2 separate regions of the Homo sapiens genome follow, and region 2 is linked to region 1. The links are contacts of gene promoters, found by promoter capture Hi-C in blood cells and fetal thymus (Javierre and others, 2016). All regions are on one chromosome and are shown on one strand. Each heading gives the region's core, a stretch centred on a gene start or on the middle of the fragment in contact. The rest is flanking DNA. Distances are from core to core; before and after follow the strand shown.

Evidence for each region. Contacts are between HindIII fragments. The CHiCAGO score rates a contact against its expected background, and 5 or more counts as called.
Region 2: the fragment with the promoter of MNT here is called in contact with a fragment that was not itself captured in region 1 in 1 of 17 cell types (naive CD4 T cells); the score reaches 5.4 in naive CD4 T cells.

The regions. Positions count from the first base shown.
Region 1 is chr17:1,676,890-1,680,625 of GRCh38, reverse strand. PRPF8 (pre-mRNA processing factor 8) reads left to right here. Exons shown (of 43, transcript NM_006445.4): 9 at 827-1,017; 10 at 1,216-1,335; 11 at 1,420-1,609; 12 at 1,745-1,864; 13 at 1,974-2,108; 14 at 2,932-3,061; 15 at 3,454-3,650. Among named protein-coding and RNA genes, the nearest start is that of PRPF8, 6.1 kb to the left of the region's middle. The HindIII fragment of the contact is 3,942 bases long and covers 473-3,736 here.
Region 2 is chr17:2,399,189-2,402,458 of GRCh38, reverse strand. MNT (MAX network transcriptional repressor) reads left to right here and starts at 1,399. Exons shown (of 6, transcript NM_020310.3): 1 at 1,399-1,819. The coding sequence starts at 1,747. RefSeq lists enhancers at 1-432, 804-853, 2,144-2,714, 2,715-3,270 and silencers at 154-473, 1,124-1,433, 1,624-1,703, 1,854-1,913, 2,434-2,923. The HindIII fragment of the contact is 11,182 bases long and covers 1-3,270 here.

The DNA of each region.
Region 1 (3,736 bases), core at 1,194-3,693:
GTCTTGCTAAGTGTTCCCCTTGAGCTATAAGCGAATATGAGAATTCAGCATTTGCTTTAAAACATGTCATTGGTATAATCCTGTTTTCTGTGATTATCCTTTTGGACTTTACGGTTCTTTTCTTGGGTGCTCTAGATAATCTGTCCCGGTCTGTCTCTATTGTGTTTGTTTGTTTTAGCCTTTATATTGAGATGTAGTTAACATACCATACAAGTTATCCATTTAAAGTGTGTAATTTGATGGTTTTTAGCTTATTCTCAGAGTTGTCCCAACTGTCACGACATGCAATTTGAGAATATTTTTATTACTTGAGAAAGAAACCCTTAGCAGTTACTCGCCATTTCTCCCCAACTTCCTTACGCAACCACTAATCTACTTTCTGTCTATAGATTTGGCTATTCTACACATTTCATATGATAGAATGAAATAGAATCGTACACTATGTAGTCTTCAGTGACTGGCTTCTTAAGCTTACCATAATGTTTTTGATGCTCATCTGTGTTCCGTTGTGTCCAAGCCCAGTGTTTGGAGCTTGGGTGGGAGATGATTGCAATGTTGACCTCCTGTGATGTTGGGGCTCCATTGGGAGGCTTTCTGGTGGTCAGCCAGTTGAGGTGTGAGAAGTGACGCTTGCTTTCCTGGTGGCCCTGTCTTGTTCTTTGCTGTCTTGGTTTCCTTTGTGCTGGCACTTCAGGGCTGCTTTTGTCAGACAGCCCAGTTTCCATAGCAGATACAGGCTTTGTGCTTGGCCCCAGAGAATTTCCCTCATCTTAAGTCTGTGCCTAGTTCAGCAGGAGCTAAACCCTTAGAGGGATTCCTTTTTCAGAGCCAGGAACCATTGCCGGATGATGATGAGGAATTTGAGCTCCCGGAGTTTGTGGAGCCCTTCCTGAAGGACACACCCCTCTATACAGACAATACAGCCAATGGCATTGCCCTGCTCTGGGCCCCGCGGCCCTTCAACCTACGCTCTGGTCGCACCCGTCGGGCCCTGGACATACCCCTTGTCAAGAACTGGTAAGGTTTTTCCCTGTGGCAGGGGGAATGATAGTGGATGTGTAGGAGAAAAGACTCCAACTAGGTGGGCATGTAGCCTTTTTTTTAAATTCTTTTTTTTTTTTTCCCATAAAAATGGTAGACAACCCAAGGCTTGCAGCCTTTAGCAGAGTGTCTGGAAGAAGAGATGGCCAAACTCTGGTGGGCTTATTTTTCCAGGTATCGGGAGCATTGTCCTGCCGGGCAGCCTGTGAAAGTGAGGGTCTCCTACCAGAAGCTGCTTAAGTACTATGTGCTGAATGCCCTGAAGCATCGGCCCCCTAAGGCTCAAAAGAAGAGGTAAGGTGCCCCAGGGGCCCTGCGCAGACTTCTGTTCCAGAGATATCAGTAGGCTGACTCTTACTCTCCATGTTCCCACCTCAGGTATTTGTTCCGCTCCTTCAAAGCCACCAAATTCTTTCAGTCCACAAAGCTGGACTGGGTGGAGGTTGGGCTCCAGGTTTGCCGCCAGGGCTACAACATGCTCAACCTTCTCATTCACCGCAAAAACCTCAACTACCTGCACCTGGACTACAACTTCAACCTCAAGCCTGTGAAAACGCTCACCACCAAGGTGCCTGCATTGGACCCTAGGGGCCTCCTGGGCTTCAAGGACGGACAGTTGTTTTCCTCTGGTTACTGATGAAGGCATACATCAGTTGGGTCCATTGCTCATTCACGTTCTGTCTGTTTTTTGCATCTTCTCCAGGAAAGAAAGAAATCTCGTTTTGGGAATGCTTTCCACCTGTGTCGGGAAGTTCTGCGTTTGACTAAGCTGGTGGTGGATAGTCACGTGCAGTATCGGCTGGGCAATGTGGATGCCTTCCAGGTAAGGTTAGGTATTCCCAACCCCTGCCTGGGTGAGGACGCTGGAGGAAGCCTGTGCTGACCGTGGAGCTGGTTTAAGCTCCAGGTCTGATGGGGCAATTGTATTGCAGCTGGCAGATGGATTGCAGTATATATTTGCCCATGTTGGGCAGTTGACGGGCATGTATCGATACAAATACAAGCTGATGCGACAGATTCGCATGTGCAAGGACCTGAAGCATCTCATCTATTATCGTTTCAACACGGTGAGACCTTGACTTTACTGACTTTCTTTTTTTTGAGACAGAGTCTTACTCTTGTCTCTTGGGCTGGTGTGCAATGGCACGATCTTGGCTCACTGCAACCTCCGCCTCCTGAGTTCAAGCAATTCTCCTGCCTCAGCCTCCCGAGTAGCTGGGATTACAGGTGCCCGCCACCACGCCTGGCAATTTTTTTTTTGTTTTGTTTTGAAACTGAGTCTTTCTCTGTTGCCCCAGCTGGAGTACAATGGCACGATCTTGGCTCACCACAGCCTCCGCCTCCCGGGTTGAAGTGATTCTCCTGCTTCAGCCTCCCAAGTAGCTGGGACTACAGGCGCGCACCACCATGCCTGGCTAGTTTTTGAAATTTTAGTAGAGATGGGGTTTCACTGTATTGGCCAGGCTGGTCTTGAACTCCTGACCTCAGGTGATCCACACTCCTCGGCCTCCCAAAGTACTGGGATTACCAGCGTGAGTCACCGTGCCCAGCCTCACTGGACTTAACTTTCTCAGATCTTTTTTCATGTATACATTTAGACAGGGCTCTTTCCAGGGACCTATTTGGAGAGCAGCTATGACTGTGTCCTTACTGCTCCTTTAAATTCACATGGGCGATCTTAGTTCCTGGTTTTTGCCTTAAGGTTTCTCATTTACCCTTTTGTTTTAGATGTTGAGGTCCCAGAGTTTTTTTTTCTTTTTACCCCTCTACTGCCATACCTACATTCCTCTGTATGTATATTATACATATATGCCCCACCTCTGCCCAGGTTTCTATTGTTGTTTAAATGCATTGCTAACTTGTATTCTTAACTTCTGCTTGGGATCGTAGGGCCCTGTAGGGAAGGGTCCTGGCTGTGGCTTCTGGGCTGCCGGTTGGCGAGTCTGGCTCTTTTTCATGCGTGGCATTACCCCTTTATTAGAGCGATGGCTTGGCAACCTCCTGGCCCGGCAGTTTGAAGGTGAGTGGTTTTCTCTGTGTCCAACTTCTCCTGTTATTGCTTCAAAAGTACCTGCCCCTGTTTGAGTCTGTTCCCTGCTCTTGTATGAGCACTCTTCCTACTGGATTGCCTTTAGGTCCAGTTCTGAAATGAGTCTGACCTAGTATTCTATTTCTTGGGCTTCCTTCTGGGGCCTTGAGAGGCAGTCATGCATTTGCAGGAGTGGAAATTCCTCAGAAGCATAGTTGTGAATGTTTAAGGTAGCTCGTCTTTTTGCATATGCTGGGCACAGGGACGCTTTGTTAATACCTAATTTTATTAATAACCATAATGAGTGAGGAGCATGAAGGTAGAGACCCTTATTGAAAGCAAGGAATCTTCCTTGTAATCCCCTTGGGACACTCTACTTCCAGGTCGACACTCAAAGGGGGTGGCAAAGACAGTAACAAAGCAGCGAGTGGAGTCACATTTTGACCTTGAGCTGCGGGCAGCTGTGATGCATGATATTCTGGACATGATGCCTGAGGGGATCAAGCAGAACAAGGCCCGGACAATCCTGCAGCACCTCAGTGAAGCCTGGCGCTGCTGGAAAGCCAACATTCCCTGGAAGGTGGGTGTCTCTTTATTTCCTTGGAGGCGTAAACATCCGTCTTTAGGGTAGGATTACCACTTCGGGAATCATTAGGGGGCTATCTG
Region 2 (3,270 bases), core at 150-2,649, 720 kb before region 1:
CCTCCTCCAGAACTGGCTTCAGAGTCGTCCCTGGGGTCAGGGAAGAGTGCCCCCGCTTCGGGAGAGAGGAGCAGGTGGAATACGGAACGACCTTAGGCGAGTCCTTGGCCGTCACGGCCTCAGTTTCCTTATGTGTGAAGTGAGAGGATTTAAGGGCAGCCGGCCTCAAAGAGCTAACTCTCCGATTGCACCCGAGCTCCCCTAAACACTCGAGCCCGGAAGACGCGGGCGGGCGGGCGGGCGACGGGGGGTCCCTCCCTCTGGGGAGCGCGGTTCCAGCCGGCCGCAGCGGACCCCGCCCCCGCGCCCCGCCCACCGCCGGTCGCCAGGCGCGGGGAGGGCCGGGCTTCCGCCCTCCACGTTGTTGTTCCCGATTTGGGCCACGCCCCCCGGTCTGGGCTGCGGGCGCTTCGTGTTCCCCGCCCTGGCCCCGGCCCCAGAGGAAAGGGTGGCCCATGGGGTGGCACAGTCCGTATCTCCACCCACATCGAATACGCGTGGACAAAGACTGGAGTTCAGGGGAAGGAAAGATAAAGGCCTGGTTTTAAATGGAAGGTGGTGAAAAGGAATGGAGAGGCCAGGGCACGACTGCGGGATTCCCCTTACGGCATCCCACCCTGGGTTCGCCCAGTGGCCCCATCCGCACCCGCGAATGTGACCTGCAGACACTGGCCCTTTAAACCGAAGGCTGGCGGCGCGGGGTGTCCATGTGGAGCTGCTCCATGCCGTGTTGTCCTGCCCGCCCATTGGCTCGCGGCCCGGTGACGTCCCCTAATAGGATGCGAACGCACTGCGGGGGGAGGAACGGAGACAAAACGCGGAGCCGGACTGCCGCTCCGCTCCCTCCGCTGGTTCTCTTGACAGTCTCCAGTCGCCGGCAGCTCCGCCCAGGGGCGGATCCCGGGGGAATTGCGACAGCCCGGCGATTGCGGGATTTAGGTCGCGAGTGGGTGGAGCGTGGAGACCCAGGGTCAGGCCAGTCTCTGCCATTCCCAAGGTTTCCCTGACCCGGAATATCCTGGTTGGAACTCTGTTAAATCTTGAATTGTTCACCCTACCCTCCCTCCAGCAGGACAGATTTCGTCGTGAACGACCCAAACGCACCGCCCCGGCCCAACTTGTGGCTTGCAGCCGGGGCGGGGCCAGCAGGAAAGCGGAACCGCGGCGCGCACACCCCGCTCGGACCTCTCCCTCCCTGCCCGGGCCACGTGTGCGCGCGCCGGATCCGGGGGGCGGGGCCAGCAGCGCAGGACCCGCCCCTCCCTTCGCGAGACGCCGCGGCCCTGCGGGCGGGGGCTCCGGTCCGGGCTTTGGCTGTGGCCCCGGTGTAGTAGCGGGGGCGGCGGCCGGGGGCAGCGCGGCTCCTTCCCTTGTTGTGTGTGTCGGTGCCTCCTCGCCATCTTGTTGCAAAGCCCTTTCTTGTCGGCGGGACTCCCGGGGGCCGCGGGGCGGGAGGCATCGGAAGGGAGGTAGAGAGGGAGGGGAAGAAGGGAGGCAGTGCCGCCTTTTTTTTTTTTTTGCATCCCATTTTTTTAAATTTGCAATTTTATATTTTGCAAATATTTTGAGAGACATTGATTTTTCTCCCCGTGCTCCCCCGTTCTTCCCTGCGGAGTGCGCTGCGCCGCCCAGCCCTGTCGCCCCCCGGAGGTGATCCCTCCCTCCTGCCTGCCCGCCAGCCTGACCTGTGCCCGGCTCGCGGGCCGCAGCCTCGGCCCCGGCGCGCCCCCGGCAGCTCTCGGCGCGATGAGCATAGAGACGCTACTGGAGGCGGCCCGCTTCCTGGAATGGCAAGCGCAGCAACAACAGAGAGCACGTGGTGAGCGGCCGGGCTGGGCCCCTGGGGCACTGGGGAAGGGGAAGCGAGTGACCCCGGTCCCCGAACCCACGCGAAACCGCGGACAGGGCCCCCTCCCGGGCGGCCTGCGGAGCCTGGCAGCGCACGGCTCCCCGCGAGAGCCGCCGCCTGGGGAGGGGTGATGTGGGCAGTGAAATTAATTAATGAATTCATTAACATGCTGCGAGGGACCTGGCTCCTGCGGGCGCCACCCCGGCTGCGTGGCACCCCTGTGCCCCTTCTGTGGTGGGCTGCTTTTGCGTGGGCCAGCGGAGCCCTCGGTGGCACTGAGGATGTGTGAGCCGGGGGGTGGGGTGAGGAATGGTGTTGCGTGGGGGTGGCAGGCTCGCGTGTGCGTGCGTGTGTGCACGGGGGATGTGTGATGTGAGCCTCGGGAAGAGCAGATGAACGGACGTGTACACGGGCGTGTGTATAGCACACGAGTGGGCGTGTGTGTAACGGAGTGGGGGTGGGGACTACTCTACGCGGAGCAGCTCTTCGGCTTCCCTGGCCCCGTGGGGAGGGTGCGGGGGGCGCTCCCGGCAGATCTACGCGCCGCTTGGGGCGGAGGCGGCCTTTGCAGAATGAAATGACATCGCGTGTCTTATGATCCTGGCCAGCCCCGCCTGACCCCGCCTCCCAGAGCTGGGCTGGGCTGCGCGTCCGGGGTTTGGGTGAAAGCCGGGCTAATTGGGCGTTTGCGAAATGGCCCGCGGGTCGCTGGGGGTCAGCCCCCGGGCCCCCCTCGCTGCGCCCCGCTTTAGCCAGTGTGGAATGTGGCGTGTCTGCGCGTTCCAAACCCGCTCTCGCCTGGAATGTTGCGTGTGCCTGCGTTCCGAGCCCGTTGGTTACACCGGGTGGTGACGTGGACGGGCTCCGCCCCCGACCACGTGCACCGGGGACACTCCTGCTGGGGACGGCGCGGCCCGGCCCCTCCTCACCGCCTCGCGCTCGGCCGGGGGCGGGGCCTGGGCGGGGCTGGCAAGGGGCCTTGCGCTGGGTTGGGCCTGGGCCCGGGCCCCGGCCTCTGGGCACCTCCCAGGGAGAGCCTTTGCCCTGCGAGGGAGGAGCCGAGCTCACCTGTCGGCTCTGGCCCCTAACCTCCTGTGTTTGATCCCGAGGCAAGGGAAACCCTCAGAATCGCAGGGCGACGAGACATTTAGAGCTCACATTTTTCCACTGACCCCCAAAACGTTCCAACTATGCCCCCTGGCATCAGCCGGGGCCACGCTGGAATGAGCCAGGATGAGAAAGGGCAAACTTCGGCGCTCCCTCGAAAGGGAAGAGACTAATGACTCCTATCTTCACGCGCCCTGTTGGTGGTCCCTGGCTTCAGGGTGCTGCAGAGGGGCTGGCGGGAAAGACCTCCCTTTTCCAGGGTGCTGCCAGGGCCTCGGCTCTGGAACGGTGTGTGTGCAGGACCCGGGGACTCC